4 separate regions of the Homo sapiens genome follow, and all the other regions are linked to region 3. The links are contacts of gene promoters, found by promoter capture Hi-C in blood cells and fetal thymus (Javierre and others, 2016). All regions are on one chromosome and are shown on one strand. The core of a region is centred on a gene start or on the middle of the fragment in contact, and the rest is flanking DNA. Distances in the headings are between cores, read along the strand shown.

Evidence for each region. Contacts are between HindIII fragments. The CHiCAGO score rates a contact against its expected background, and 5 or more counts as called.
Region 1: a fragment that was not itself captured here is called in contact with the fragment with the promoter of CFL2 in region 3 in 3 of 17 cell types (total CD8 T cells, total B cells and naive CD8 T cells); the score reaches 6.1 in total CD8 T cells.
Region 2: a contact is called between a fragment that was not itself captured here and the fragment with the promoter of CFL2 in region 3, in 1 of 17 cell types (neutrophils). The highest score is 7.1, in neutrophils.
Region 4: a contact is called between a fragment that was not itself captured here and the fragment with the promoter of CFL2 in region 3, in 15 of 17 cell types (total B cells, naive CD8 T cells, naive CD4 T cells and 12 more). The highest score is 13.6, in total B cells.

Annotation. Positions count from the first base shown.
Region 1 is chr14:35,396,258-35,400,093 of GRCh38, reverse strand. No RefSeq gene overlaps it. Among named protein-coding and RNA genes, the nearest start is that of NFKBIA, 6.6 kb to the left of the region's middle. The HindIII fragment of the contact is 6,677 bases long and covers 1-3,836 here.
Region 2 is chr14:35,435,397-35,439,124 of GRCh38, reverse strand. No RefSeq gene overlaps it. Among named protein-coding and RNA genes, the nearest start is that of NFKBIA, 33 kb to the right of the region's middle. The HindIII fragment of the contact is 4,638 bases long and covers 1-3,728 here.
Region 3 is chr14:34,711,927-34,716,124 of GRCh38, reverse strand. CFL2 (cofilin 2) reads left to right here and starts at 1,532. Exons shown (of 4, transcript NM_138638.5): 1 at 1,532-1,587; 2 at 2,564-2,871; 3 at 2,989-3,065; 4 at 3,148-4,198. The coding sequence starts at 1,585. The coding sequence ends at 3,260. RefSeq lists silencers at 1,096-1,685, 1,776-1,835. The HindIII fragment of the contact is 2,283 bases long and covers 1-2,045 here.
Region 4 is chr14:35,414,256-35,418,513 of GRCh38, reverse strand. No RefSeq gene overlaps it. Among named protein-coding and RNA genes, the nearest start is that of NFKBIA, 12 kb to the right of the region's middle. The HindIII fragment of the contact is 8,767 bases long and covers 1-4,258 here.

The DNA.
Region 1 (3,836 bases), core at 818-3,317, 680 kb before region 3:
GTCAAAAGAATATGGTCACCTTGGACCAAAAAGGAGCCAGTATTTAGTGGTCTTCCACATATAAGGAGTGTTACTACAGACTGGTTAAAGCCAATTCTGCCCCAATTCTTTCTCTTTCTTTTTTTTTTTTTTTTTTTTTTTTTGAGATGGAGTCTTGCTCTGTCGCCCAGGCTGGAGTACAGTGGCATGATCTCAGCTCACTGCAACCTCCACCTCCCGGGTTCTAGCGATTCTCTGTGCCTCAGCCTCCCGAGTAGCTGGGATTACAGGTGCCTGCCACCACGCCTGGCTAATTTTTATATTTTTAGTAGAGACAGGGTTTCACCATGTTGCCCAGGCTGGTCTTGAACTCCTGACCTCAGGTGATCTGCCCACCTCAGCCTCCCAAAGTGCTGGAATTTCAGGCGTGAGTCACCGCGCCCAGCTCTGCTCCATTTCTGTAGCCTTAGTCCATCCGGAACCCAGCACTGGCGGTCCCTCTACCAGTCTTATTCTCTGTCAAAGTGCCCGGGTTCTTCCCTGAAATTCCTTGTCCATCCCCAAGCACCTCAACACAGGTGTTAAATGACCTACCACAGGAATTAGGTCAGTTAGGTTCAGCTCTCAGCTAAGTGGGAGAGGTAAGATGGGAGTGGGGTGATATCCCCACCCTCATTCTCAAAAGAACAAAGGTTGGAAACTTGGCTCCCCAATTTTGGAACGATGCCCTTAGTACTTTCTACTCAGTCAAATGTGACTCTTCTTCCCTCTGTAAAGGGGTTAAATTTGTGCCAATTCACCCATACGCTGTCTCTAGTTCTGTGCTAGGTTGTAGAAACAGGACAAAGCTGTGCGCCACCCCCTCATCCCCAGCCTCCTTAGAGCCCAGCTCTTGCATAGGGGCGTCACCCTCCATGGTCAAGCAAGGGTGGGCCCCTTCTCACCCACTTGGGCCCAGTCTCCCACCTTTCTAGGCTTCAGCTTTTCTTCTTTCTAGGTCCTAAACCTTGGAAAAGGTTCTGTCATCTGCATAAATCTCGAGGTAGCTGGGCCCAGTTAAGCACTGAAGGCTGCCCCGGTTCCTTACTCTCTAGCTCTTCTCCCCATTTCTCATCCCCCCCCCCACCTTTTTTTTGTGTGTGTGTGATAGGGTCTCACTCTCTTGCCCAGGCTGGAGTGCAGTGGCATGATCTCGGCTCACTGTAACCTCCGCCTCCTGGGTTCAAGCAATTCTCCTGCCTCAGCCTCCCGAGTAGCTGGGACTACAGGTGCACACCACTACACCCGGCTAATTTTTATATTTTTAGTGGAGATGGGGTTTCGCCGTGTTGGCCAGGCTGGTCTCGAACTCCTGACCTCAAGTGATCCACCTGCCTTGGCCTCCCACAGTCCTGGGATTACAGGTGTGACCCACCACACCCAGCCCTCCCTGCTTTTCTTTTCTTTTTGTTTTAAATTTATTATCTTTCTGTCCTGCCTGTTGGTTGGGTGACTGGAGCCTGGAGTTCCCTAAAGGAAAATTTTAGAAGGGAAACATTCTAATCTGTAGAAAATCTTCAAATTCCTAAGCAAACAAGAGCAAAAGATCTCAAAGTAAACAGGCCAGCAGACGGAGAGTCTTCTTTAATGCACTTTGATTTCCTCCAAGAAGTTACAGATTGTGTGGGGACAGGTAGGACTAAGAGTGCCTAGAGAAAGGGGAAGTGATATGAGGGGGAAATAATATATCACATCAGCAACTTCCTTGAATTCAGTTCCTTGATTCCTTCTGCCTGCCTTATCCATCAGGATACATTTCCTGTAGCGGCCACGTGTACCAAGTCCTTCCAGAAAGTAAGGATTTTTCTTTAAAGAGGGAACAAACTAGTCTGAGCAATCTGAAGACCTTCCCCTGGGGCCTGGAAATTCAGAAGGCTGGGAGCTTGGGTGGATTTGCATGGAAAGTTCAGTTGCTACTGGAAGTGATTAAGTGGTGACAGAATTGAGTCTGTCAGATGGGTCTTCCTTCCCCAAGACTTCCCACCCCCGTACCCACCCACTCCCCCACCCCCAGCTTTCTGCCAGATTTTCATTAACTTGCCTTAAGTGTAGCTGAAATTTCATTTGGCAAGAAAAGTCTGAGTTGTGGAACTCCAGTCTGAAACATGCCCAAGAAACATTCCCCAACCTCTGGTGCCTGGACAAGAATATCCTAGGCTGTTTCCCCATTGAAAGAGAGCATTACAGAAACTGAAACTGGACCTCACCTGTGTTTCCCTCCTAGAGAAGTACGACTCTCCAACCCATTCCTTCATTTGCATCAAAAAGAACTATTCTCCAGGCCTCCTGCCAAGGGCAGGAATAAGAGGAATAAGTCATGGCCTCTGCCCCTAAGAGCTCCTTGCTTAGGTGGAGAGGGAGACAGACAACTGCATGGAAAGGCGTGATGAGATGAAAGCCCATAGCACGGGAGCTGAGCCCAGGCACCAGCGCGGAGTGCAGGTGGGAGAGACGGGACCCGAGCTCATATTCCAGTTAGCTATTTACCTGCCAGTACTATATTATCTTATCCCATGCCCCAAGTGACTGTGGCAGGCACCCTTTTCACAGGGGGCAGGAAGTATGACCCAGCATCAGCCAATCTGAGTCATTGACAAGTAGGACTGGACTCTGAACACTGACATGAAAATAGGGCCAAGGCCCACAAACCGGCCAGCAATCCAGGTAAGTGTGACCAGGTGCGGGGGCTCATGCCTATAATCCCAGCACTTTGAGAAGCTGAGGCAGGAGGATCATTTGAGCCCAGGAGGTCAAGACCAGCCTGGGAAATATAGGGAGAGCCCATCTCTACAAAAAAAAATACATTAAGGCCAGGCACGGTGGCTCACACCTGTAATCCCAGCACTTTGGGAGGCTGAGACAGGCGGATCACCAGAGGTCAGGAGTTTGAGATCAGCCTGGCCAACATGGTGAAACCCCATCTCTACTAAAAATACAAAAAGTAGCCAGGCCTGGTGGTACGTGCCTGTAATCCCAGCTACTTGGGAGACTGAGGCAGGAGAATCACTTGAATCCAGAAGGCAGAGGTTGCAGTGAGTGGAGATCGTGCCATTGCACTCCAGCCTGGGCAACAAGAGTGAAACTCTGTCTCAAAAAACAAAAAAGAAAGAAAGAAAGAAAGTCAGCCTGGGTCACACAGCCAGTAAATGGCAGAGCCAGGCTCTAGGTATATATTCCTAACCTGGGGATAAAGCAGCTTCCAGGCCAGGCACACTGGCTCACTCCTGTTATCCGAGCACTTTGGAAGTCTGAGGTGTGCAGACTGCTTGAGCCCAGGAGTTCGAGACCAGCCTGGACAACACAGTGAAACCCCATCTCTGCAAAAATACAAAAAATTAGCTGGGAGTGGTGGTGCGCACCTGCAGTCCCAGCTTTCATGCACGTCCGTGTGAAGAGACCACCAAACAGGCTTTGTGTGAGCAAAATGGCTGTTTATTTCACCTGGGTGCAGGCGGGCTGAGTCCGAAAAGAGAGTCAGCGAAGGGAGATAGGGGTGGGGCCGTTTTATAGGATTTGGGAAGGTAATGGAAAATTACAGTCAAAGGGGGTTGTTCTCTGGTGGGCAGGGGTGGATCTCACAAAGTACATTCTCAAGGGTGGGGAGAATTACAAAGAACCTTCTTAAGGGTGGGGGAGACTACAAAGTACCTTCTTAAGGGTGGGGGAGATTACAAAGTACATTGATCAGTTAGGGTGGGGCAGGAACAAATCACAATGGTGGAATGTCATCAGTTGAGGCTGTTTTTACTTCTTTTGTGGATCTTCAGTTACTTCAGGCCATCTGGATGTATACGTGCAAGTCACAGGGGATGCGACGG
Region 2 (3,728 bases), core at 618-3,117, 720 kb before region 3:
AGAGGCTGGGCGCAGTGGTTCACGCCTGTAATTGAACTAAGATAGCTCCACTGCACCTCAGCCTCAGTGACAGAGCAAGATCCTGTCTCAAAAAAAAAAAAAAAAAAAAAAAGCAGAAAAGGGCTCCCACTATAGGCAGCTCAGGAAAATTACATACGACCAACTAACCTGGAATTTAGGCAAGCATTCTGACACTGACAAAGAATTAATGGCTGTCATTGGCTTTGAGGTGAGGGCTTCACTCTGAGTCCAAAAAACATTTAGAGCAGGTGGACTCCAAAGAATAAACTTTTTTTTTTGAGATAGGGTCTCACTCTGTCACCCAGGCTGGAGAGCAGCAGTGTGATCTTGGCTCACTGCAACCTCTGCCTCCCGAGTTCAAGTGATTCGCATGCCTCAGCCTCCAGAGCAGCTGGGACTACAGGTACGCACCAGCACGCCTGGCTAATTGTTGTGTTTTTGGTAGAGACAGGATTTTGCCATGTCAGCTAGGCTGGTCTCGAACTCCTGACCTCAGGTGATCCGCCCACCTCGGCCTCCCAAAGTGCTGGGATTACAGGCGTAAGCCATTGTACCTGGCCAAAAAACAAACCTTTTTTTTTTTCTTTTTGAGACGGAGTCTGTCTCTGTTGCCCAGGCTGGAGTGCAGTGGCGCGATCTTGGCTCACTGCAAGCTCCACCTCCCAGGTTCACGCCATTCTTCTGCCTCAGCCTCCCGAGTAGCTGGAACTACAGGCGCCCGCCACATACCTGGCTAATTTTTTTTTTTTTGTATATTTAGTAGAGACAGGGTTTCACCTTATTAGCCAGGATGGTCTCGATCTCCTGACCTCGTGATCCGCCCGCCTCGGCCTCCCAAAGTGCTGGGATTATAGGCATGAGCCACCGTGCCCAGCCCAAAAAACAAACTTTAAATCAGAGAATACTCTGGTTGAGACAAAAATTGGACAAATCTTGAAAGGAGTACTAATGCAATGGGGTTTCCTTATACAACGTTTCCAAATTCCAAAGGAATTCATTTTCTTCTGACATAATACAGCTGGATAGGGCCAGGCACAGTGGCTCAGGCCTGTAATCCCAGCACTTTGGGAGGCTGAGGCGGGTGGATCACCTGAGGTCAGGAGTTTGAGATCAGCCTGGCCAACGCAGTGAAACCCTGTCTCTACTAAAAATACAAAAATTAGCCAGACGCGGTGGTGCACACCTGTAGTCCCAGCTACTCAGGAGGCTGAGGCTGGAGAATCGCTTGAACCCAGGAGGTGGAGGTTGCAGTGAGCCGAGATCATGCCACTGCACTCCAGAGTGGGTGACAGAGTGAGACTCCATCTCAAAAAAAAAAAAAAAGAAAAAAAAAAAAAAAAAACCAGCTGGGTATTAATAAGGAAGGAAGGAAGGACTACTTGAAAAACCTAAGGTCAAACACATCAAGCAGGGAAAACACAAAGCAATTAATGTGAGAGAAAAGGAGATGGTAGCTCTAAAAGAAAGGGAAATAGGGTGTTAGTATCCTTTTGACCATCACAGGCCAAGCCCTCTTCAGCAGGAAAAGGTTCATTAACTAAATGGCCTGGAAGTTTTTAACACAGATGACTCAAAGAAAATTTGTTTCTGCGCAGGGAAGAATAAAGTTGATTTAAAATGAAAACCAAAAAAGTCTTCCAAAACAAACATTTCTTATTAACTAACTAAAAATCAATAAGAAAAAGAAAACAACTCAGTAGAACTATGGGCAAAGAGCATGAACAGGCAAGTCACACACAATACAGATTGCTAGAAATGTTAAGAGATGCTCAACCTCCCTTATAATTAATCAAAAACTAAAACAATAATGCAATTATTTCTGCCTATCAGATTGGAAAAAATTTTTAAATGTATAATATTCAGGGTTGACAAGAGGATTGGAAAACACGAATGGGGAAATACCCTCGCTGGGATTGTTAATTAGTACAACTTTTTTGGAGAGAAACACAACAATTTTTATTGCATTTTTAATGTTCATGCCCTTTGACTCAACATTTTTATTTCTAATAATTTATCTCACAAAAGCGTGCAAATGTTCGACATTTAGTATAGATTGTTTATTTATTTATTTAATTATTTTTGAGACAGTCTCACTCTGTCACCCAGGCTGGAGTGCAGTAGCGTGGTTTCAGCTCGCTGCAACCTCCGCCTCCCGAGTTCAAGCAATTCTCCTGCCTCAACCTCCCAAGTAACTGAGATTACAGACGCCCACTACCACACCTGGCTAATATTTTGTATTTTTAGTAGAGACAGGGTTTCACCATGTTGGCAGGCTGGACTTGAACTCCTGACCTCAGGTGATCCGCTCGCCTCAGCCTCCCAAAGTGCTGGGATTACAGGTGTGAGCCACTGCGCCTGGCCTGTTTATAATATTTTAAAAACCTGGAATAGGCCAAGCACAGTGGCTCATACCTGTAATCCCAGCACTTTGGGAGGACGAGGCAGGTGGATTCCTTGAGTCAAGACCAGCCTGGGTGACATGGGTGACATGGACAAACCCCATCTCTAAAAAAAAAAAGAAAAAAAAAAAACCCAGAATAACGCAACTGTCCATTAATTGAAGTTGTTTAAATAACTATGGTGCTTATAATGAAATGCTATAGAGCTATGAAATAGAATGTGACATATCTTCACGTAGAAGGTTGCATTAAGTAAGAAAGTAAGATGCCAAGCTGTATGAATAGGGTATGGTGGTGTTTATGGGGTGACAAAAATATTCTGGAATTAAATAGTGGTAATTGGTTGCATAACATTGTGGCTATACTAAAAGACACTGAATTGTACAGTTTAAAATGGCTAAAATGATAAATTTTATGTTGTATAGATTTTACTTCAAGTTTTAAAAAACAGTATGAATAACATGATCCCATTTTTGTGTGAAAAAAATATTTTTAGTATGTACATAGAAAAAAACCTAGAGAGAAATACACTAAGTAATTGGCAGTGATTATCTCTGAGTGTGATAGACACAGTATATTGTTAATAACCATGTTGTATATATCTGTAATGTTGGAAATTTTAATAAACAGAGGACTTAGAACTTTCATATCCAGAAAAAAAGATACTAAATCACTTGAAAAGTAGAGAAAGAGGTCTAATTATCTGAGAACAAATAACTGAGCCAGTAAAAAATTCCTTTCAAAGATAACTCAAAATAACTATTTCAGTGGGAATTGCATTATTTCAGAATCATGGGATTGTAAAGGTTTTGTGTGTGTGTACATTTCCTTAATAAAGAAAAAGGAGAACATGTACAAACGCTTCTTCAACGTAGTTAGATGCTAAAATTTAACCTTCATTGAGACTGAAAATGTAAACACTCATTTGTCTAGGAGGAATTGGTTACTAAAGTCTGTGTACCCTGATGCTTCTGTTGCCAACCAAAGCATCTGCTGGGTCCTGACCTTCAGATAATAAAAGTAATTATAAGACTCATGATCAGAAGATTGGGATTCTGGTTCCAGCTAAGCCACTAATTTGCCATGTGAATAGAGCCAAATCCTCTAATCTTACTATACTTCCATTTCTTTCTTTCTAAAAATGGGGAGATGCTACTGAAAGAGATCAGGATATGCCATCCCAAAATATGCCACTTTGGCATAAGGATTATTTTGAGCTGAAGGCAACTGATGGAGGAAAAGGTCTCTGCCCTCCCTTTATCTGCCTAAAAACAGGACATAAATTTTCCTTTGAGGAAGGTACTCCTC
Region 3 (4,198 bases), core at 283-2,782:
CTGTTTGGGGAGGGTAAGAGAGAATGGGAGGCATGGAAAGGGGTTGGAGTCCGAGCTAGGGGGTGACTAGCATCTTTGGAATCCCCAGCTTTGGTGGGTAAGGTTCTGACACCCACTTTAGGCCCCAGTGTCATCAGACCTGGTCTCTGCTGGGGCTGCTGCAAATCTCTGAGGTTGGGAAGGGAAGGTAACCGCAAGATGAAGCGAACAGGAATTTGCTAATACCTACACATAGCAGATGATCAGAGCTCTGGAGAGACATTCTCCATGACTTCTTGGAAGTTCAACAGATAAAGTGAAAGGTTCCATAAATTGTAATGTACCAGCTAGATATAAAGTATTATCCACTTGCTTGGGATTCATGCTTAGACATTGGGAAATCCCTTCTCAATTTTTGTCTCTAAACGAAGTCTATCTTCCAATTAAGAAAACAAACCCAAGATATAGACAGAAAAATAGGTCTGTTTCAATGCCTAGCATGTTCCATTTAAAATACAGTAAATTTGGGCTGAAAGAACTTATCACGCAATCTAGGGCAAACACCATCTCATGACTTTCCTGCCTAACCTCAATCCTGAGACCACCAAAAACACACCATTTCCTACTGAACATTGATATACTCAGAAACTGAAATCTAAAGCTGGAAAGGGCCTTAACGATAATTTAATAACAGTTTGTTTTACACATGAAGAACCCTGAGGTATGGAGGAGTTAAGATTAAAAAAAGAGAAACTGCCTTGGCGCAGTTATATGGGCTTTGCTAGAAGAGGCTGCGTCGGCTTATTTGATATCAGCTGTCATAGCTGGAGCTTCATGAAATCTCTAAGAGAGAGTACAATCCATTTCCTATGAAGTCTAAAATGTAAAAGGATATTACTAAGGAATGCTACCACGTAATTTTTTAATCATAATTATTATTTCAACCAGAGTTTTGAAAAGTGATTTACCAACACTGCGTATCATTTTGTTTTTGCTAAGTACTATCAACTGGAGCAATCTCGTGTAGTATTTATTCTCATTTATCTCTAAACAACTGGGGGTTTTCCAAAAAGACTCAAAATGTCGAAATCCAGCCTCTTTCGGGAAAACCACAGGTAAATAAGGAAAGACACCTTCGCAGGAGTTCCCCTCACACGCACCCACCCCTGGCGCAGGGCCCTACGGAGGCGGTGGAAACGCCCCTCTGGGAGCCCAGCACTCTCTCCCACCGGCTTGACGGGTGATGCTCGGGGGCTGGAGGCGGCTCTGCCAGGCTCCCGGGCTCCGCTACCACCGCGTCGCCCCCCCCGGCCTGCAGGGCTCGCGCTCTGAGGTCAGGCCGAGGACGCGGACAGCCGGGGAGCCGGGGCCGCGAGACAGAAGGGCCGGCCTGGGAGCGGGTGGCGCCGGCTGGGGACCAGGCGTGCCCACGTGACCGCCCCGCCCGCTGCCTGCGGCCCGCCGAGCCCCGCCACCTCCCTCGGGCTGCAGCTCCCGGCGTGCCCCGCACTCTCCGCTGCCCACCCGCTCGCCCGCCCCTCCTTCTCCTCCCAGTGCCACAGAGCCGAAGCCCGAGCTGCCGCCGCAGCCACAGCCGAGGGCACTATGGTAAGACGAGCGCGCTGGCCGGGAGGCCGCGGCGAGGCGAGAAAAGCCCCCCGCACGGCCCCGGGAGTGAGGCCGCCATTTTAACCTGATTTTGGCCTCCAAGGTGGGCGCTTCTGCTCTGCGGCTCCGCTGCTCTCCAGCCGACCGGCCTGCCCTCCGGCCGTCAGGCCCTGCCCTGCTGCTCTTTGGATTTTGGGGGGCGGGGAGGGCCCGGGCGTCGGCGCAGGTTGGGGGTCGGGGCCGGGCGGGCGGGGGCGCGAGAGGGTCTGCGGACTGCAGCCGCTCGCGCCGCCTTTGCCCTTCGCTTCCTAATTTTACTTAACACGCGAGGCTTTAAAATTGGTACGTGCTGCGAACGCTGTGTGGGTCAGGGTCTGGACGGCCTGTAATAAAACCCTTACGGGGAGATTAAGGAAGAGGGAAAACACTTTTTAAAATGCTTTCTCGCCGTAAAAGCTTTTACACTCGATCAGTTAGTTTTGGAGTGTCTGCATGTGAGCTGTGTGTGGGCCGTGGGCGGTTTGGAGTTTACACTTGATTCTCTTTCCTTATGAGGAAACGTCAGTGGCTAGGATGACTTTAAAGAAAAAAATAGTAGAAGCATTAACTGAAATCCAAAAGTGTTTTTTTAAGGCCAGCCGAGTTGACACAATACAGAAGGTATTTTTGCTGCCACTCCTGAAGCTCTGACATCACCCAGTGAAATAGGAAACATTTCAGGGATGGGACAACTTGTATTTGTCCCTTTCGCTTCCACGTCCAAACCCCTTTAAGAAGGATGAATGGGCAGGATGAGTTAGACTCCTTCGCTGTATCGTCTACTGATTCTTAAAATGTGACAAATCTGATTGGACGACTTACATGGTACGGTGCAATTTTTGATGTCCAGACTAAAGTGAGTCTTCTCTAGGCAAACAGTAATTTTGGTTAAAACCAAAATACGTGTTCTGAATTACTGTTCTGTGTTTATTTTCAGGCTTCTGGAGTTACAGTGAATGATGAAGTCATCAAAGTTTTTAATGATATGAAAGTAAGGAAATCTTCTACACAAGAGGAGATCAAAAAGAGAAAGAAAGCAGTTCTCTTCTGTTTAAGCGATGACAAAAGACAAATAATTGTAGAGGAAGCAAAGCAGATCTTGGTGGGTGACATTGGTGATACTGTAGAGGACCCCTACACATCTTTTGTGAAGTTGCTACCTCTGAATGATTGCCGATATGCTTTGTACGATGCCACATACGAAACAAAAGAGTCTAAGAAAGAAGACCTAGTATTTATATTCTGGTGTGTAAAAACAAAAGAAAAAAGTACTTTTAAAATGCAAGGATTATTATTATCATAGTCAGTCTTACCTTTGTTTTTCTTATAAATGGGATTCAATAATTTTTTTTTTTTCTGTAGGGCTCCTGAAAGTGCACCTTTAAAAAGCAAGATGATTTATGCTAGCTCTAAAGATGCCATTAAAAAGAAATTTACAGGTACAAACTTGAATATTTGGGGCAGAGAAATTATTCTTTATTAATTATAATAAAGTAATAGGATAATGTTTTTTCTTTTTAGGTATTAAACATGAGTGGCAAGTAAATGGCTTGGATGATATTAAGGACCGTTCGACACTTGGAGAGAAATTGGGAGGCAATGTAGTAGTTTCACTTGAAGGAAAACCATTATAAAATGACAGTCAAGTGCCATCTGGATCTTAAGGAGCTTCCATTTCTCCAGCTCAGTCCATTGGAATAGTATTAGGTTTTGGTTTTTTGTTGTATTTCCCCCTTTCCACTGGGCCCTTCCAACACAATGAATGAAGGAAATATCATTTATTTAAGCAGCCTATCAGTGATTGCCATTAGACTGTTGAATACTGTTACTTTTATATAGAACCCAAGGAATGCCTTCCTGTCATATTTTAGCCAAAACAACTGGTTATATGCCTCCCTTGCAGCAAGCACTACAATGTATGTGATCGTCAATGTGAATAGCTTAGAATACTGCAAAGGATAAGCTAATTGAATGCCTTGAAAGTATTATCCACTGGTCAGATGGTCAACTTTTTTCAGTATTATTTATAGTTGGCACTTGATTGCAGTTCTGTGAGGCTTGAGCATTCATACACCTCACCTGCCTTGGCAAGCCTATTTTAGTGATATGGCAGCACGGATATAACACTATGCATTAAAAGCACTTTTTGTAATAAGTTTAATATCCTAAAAGGAATGCCAATTAAGTTTTGTTAACTGTGTCATCAACTTATCCTAGTACCTCAGTGTTCATTCCTGTTACCTGCATATCTTCTTAAAAGAAATAGCTGTTATTAATGCCTTTTTGTTTTCCATTGAGTGTACACTACTGAATAAGTGTAGGAGTTTTATGTTTACCATGTGAGTCCTGCAACACTAAAGATATTTTGAATATCAGTCATGATGGCAATTTCTGTATAAAAGAGCCTTAAATGGAACATTGTTTTGAGATCAAACTCCCCACCCTCACAAAAATGGCCACGTTGCAATAAAAATTGTGGCATATTACAGAACGTTGCCTTGTTTTCCTTGGAAATTTTGCAAAATGTTATGTGAAACAACTTCTAGGGTAAAAACAGCTATTACTAATCTCT
Region 4 (4,258 bases), core at 1,316-3,815, 700 kb before region 3:
CAGATTTACTGAATAAAAATCTCTGGGGGGTGGCCCAGCAAGCTGTGGTTTAACAACCCTCCAGGTGACTCTAATACAAGCCAAAGTTTGTACCAACCACCGATATAGAGGAAGGAGCACCAGGCTCAATATCTAGAGATCTGGGTTTTAGTCCAATTTGTTTCATTGTGTGACCTTGAGCACATCACTTAACTTCATCAACTTCCATCTGTTTACTGATAAAATGAAAGAGATGCCACGTTTTCATTATGTGCTTTTAATGAAATAATTGTAAATCTTTGAATCACAGCCCTGAAGGAGCCCTTTAGTTAGCCTGTAATTGTGTATTTAAAAGTAATTAAACATCATATCTTAAATAAAACTTTCTTTTCTTTCAGTCTGGCCTTTCTCTTCTCAAGTTAGCCTGAATTCATGAGCTTTAGCTTATCTGTGCAGTTTCCTATAGACACACAATCTTGCCATACTTGACACTTGGTTTACAAAGACCACTTTCTTGTACTTCTCACGGTCTTCAGGTTTTGGGCAGCCCTGTCTTCTGCTTTTCCTCACATCTCTCTGGATGCTTTTCCTCAGTTTCCTTGGCTGGCTTCTCAGCCAAGCTCACCTCTTTGGGTGTTCCCAGTCTTGGTGTTTGGACTTCTACACACAATTCCTGGGTGGCTTTGTCCGTTTCTCAAATAAGTCAATGACTTCCAATATACTGCATGCTCTTAGAACTCTCCACATTAAATTGGCTGTTTGTATCTACCAGGATCTTGAAATTAGTGTGTCCAGGATGGAGCCCATCATCTTCCCCTCAACCTGCTCTTCCTCCTGTTTTTCCACTACATAACCAAAGTCAGAAACAGAGCTCCTAGATTCTTCCTTGTCTCCTTCACATCCAATCAGTCACTCAGACCTCAAAATCCTTGTTCTTAGATTTCTCTGTAGCCATCTCACTTTCCAGTCACTGTCTTTGTTTTTTTTTTTTTGTTGTTGTTGTTGTTTTTATTTTTACAGAGTCTTGCTCTGTCGCCCAGGCTGGAGTGCAGGAGTGCAGTCGTGTGATATCTCGGCTCACTGCAACCTCCACCTCCCGGGTTCAAGTGATTCTCCTGCCTCAGCCTCCCGAGTGGCTGGGATTACAGGCATGCGCCACTGCATTCAGCTAATTTTTGTATTTTTAGCAGAGACGGGGTTTCACCATGTTGGCCAGGCTAGTCTCAAACTCCTGACCTCAGGTGATCCACCTGCCTCAGCCTCCCAAAGTGCTGGGATTACAGGCATGAGCCACTGCACCTGGCCTCCAGTCACTGTCTTTAACTGGCCACCAGCCTCATGCCTAACCTACTCCAGTTTATTTGCCACACTGTCTTCTAAAGCATACACCTGATCAGTAATCCACCACAGCTTTCAGGGTGCAGGCCCAGCTTCTCGGCTCGGTCACATGACTGTGTGCTGTGTCTTTCCTGCCTACTCATATCCCGCTACCACACAGCAAGCCCTGTGAAGCTGCTTTCACACCTCCCAGCCCCACCACAGGCTTAACCCTCTGCCTGCACATCCTTCTTCCCACTCCTGACTCTGACTTGTCTTTCAATAGCTGCCCTGGACCATCCCTCTCAGTGTGGTGTGGCTTCCCTCGCCTCATGCTCCCAGGCCACTTTGTTCAGGCCTCGGCCACATCTCTGATCACTCCCTACTAGAATTACTCATTTACCTGCTGGTCTTCTCACCAGCCTAGAAGCGCCTTGAGAGCAGGAGCCATATTTATTTTTATTTTATAAATAAAAATTTATTTTTATTATGCTCCATATCACAGCATAGTGCCAGGCACCAAAAAAAAAAAAAAAAGAGCTTCATAAATGCTTGACAGATTAATGGGTTTTGCTTTCCCTACCTACAGTGCTTTGCTTCTTTAGAGTTTTTTTTCTCCCCCATATTAACCCTGTTGTGTCAATATTTCACATTCCCTTTATCTTAATCAGGCCTGCGACAAAACATAGCTACAGGCAGTCAGGGACAGACATTTGAGCTTGAACTAAGAAAGTGAATTTACCCAGAGGGAAAGCCTCTGATCAGAAGTCTGGGGGCGGGAAGGGGTGACAGCCTGTCTGTGAGAGCCCTGACATTTTGAAAGCACCAAACTCACTGTCACCCTGAGCTTTTCCTGTGGGGAGCAACAGAGGTGGGGGCTTTTACCCTCCCTTGTGGGCAGGGCTCGAAAGCAAATTTCCCTGCTGAGTTTTCCTTTTGTGGTGCCTGTGACCACGAAGGAGGCTGCCCCAGGAATCCCCACCTATTTTTAGCCTCAGTTCAACACCCTGCAGACAACAACCCTCCCATATACCTCTAAGTTAATTTCCAGTCTTGTCACTGAGCTGGCCTGACAAATCGATAGACTCAATCTTGCTAGTGAAAAGACAAAGTGAGAAGGTTAAGGCCTTTAACAACAGAAAGCTGCAGTGATGCCCTGAGGCTCAATACGTCAAATAGCCTCCTGTACCACTTTTATAAAACAATTTAGTATATGTTCATATGTAATAGTATTTGAATGAAGTTCTCTGTGCCCAAAGTCCAAGATGTGAAGTCTACCCGGATCTAAACTGCCTAGGGTTTCCTCTTCAAGGGAAACTTTCCTGGGAAATCAGTTGTTCCAGATGTTGCCTTAGTCAGACTGCAAAGCATACATCATTCTCTGTACACCAATGGGCTTTTCATTTTAAATATTATTGGTTTATGTATACTCTGTTAAACTGGGTCAAGCTCTTGAGCTTATGAAATTTTGGTGTTGCAAATACCTCTGCTTCTGAAAGCCATTAAAGAGCACCCCAGAAGGGCAGCAGGTGGGCCTTGGCCACCACACCCCTACCTGGGCCAGCCAGTCATATGTCCATGGGCCGTTAGCCTTGCAGTCCTCAATGAGAGGTCTAAGTATGCATCACTTTGTCAGATGGCCTTTCAACCAACAACACTCATTCTCATTCTGCTTCCTTCCCACCATTCTATGTCCCCAGTACATTTCTAACATGGGGAATACTCCAGGCAAATGCTCATCTATTCCTCTAAACTAGAGCTTCTGCCCCAATTTCCTGTTAGATATCTTGCCCTGGGGAACTGGACTAAGCAAGCCTCCAGGACATCACCTATCTCCTTAACTCCTTAACTGAAGGTTTGAAAAGGAGCCTTCCTCCTCTACCCTGGGCTCCACCCCAGAGGTTACTCTCAGGCAACAGAAAAGAAAAGAAGAGAAGGAGGACACTATCTAGGTCTATTTATAATCTGTTCACTTCTACTCACATTCAATTCCTCTAGGATAGGATGGGATATGGTGGCTCTGATGTGCCCCCATCCTCCTAATAGCCTTTATTTCAGAGTGTCTGCATCCTTTGTAAAATGGGAATGGTAACACTTTACTTGCCTGAAAGCAGAAGCTGGACCCGATGGCCTCTTGAGATAATTTCTAGATAGAAAAGAATGAAATCGATTGCATGCAAAGTGAGGTATTAACAGAGGAGGAGGGTCCAAGAAAAATTATGACAGGTATGAAGCAAAGGGGATACTCATGCCTGAATCAATGGCAAGGGAAGCCCAGGGTAAGAGAGACACAGAAGAAATGAATGTCTCCTCCCCACCCAGCAGCCCCTGCCCCACCCAACACTATTCTGTGTTTAACTAGGGACACAAGCAATAACTAAGCAGTATAAGACAATATGTGGCCCAATATTCAAGGCAAGCTGTAAAAGCTAGCAGGATTTAGAAGAGGGCAGAGGGCTCCAAGAAGAGGAAGACAGAAAAGGAGTTTTGGAAAGGGTGGGTCCTGGCAAGGAAGCTGAAAGAAGGTGGTCCTAGGACAGGCAGGGAGAGGCCTGCATGAAGGCCAGAGCAGCTGGCACAGTGTTGGTGCTCGGGGGAAATGGTGATGAGGAGTGGCTGGGCAGGGTAGAGTCTGACTCTGGAGGACTTTAAATGCAGCTGAGGAATTCAGACCGTTTCCTGCAGCCCATGGAAGGTCAACAGAGGCTCTGTTACAGGAAATGATATAATGAAAATGCATATTAGAAGCCTCAGTGAAAAGAGATTTAGGCTGGGCACGGTGGCTCATGCCTGTAATTCCAGCACTTTGGGAGGCCGAGGTGAGTGGATCACCTGAGGTCAGGAGCTTGAGACCAGGCTGACCAACATGGTAAAACCCCGTCTCTACTAAAAATACAAAAATTAGCCAGGCGTGGTGGCACATGCCTGTAATCCCAGCTACTTGGGAGGCTGAAGCAGGAGA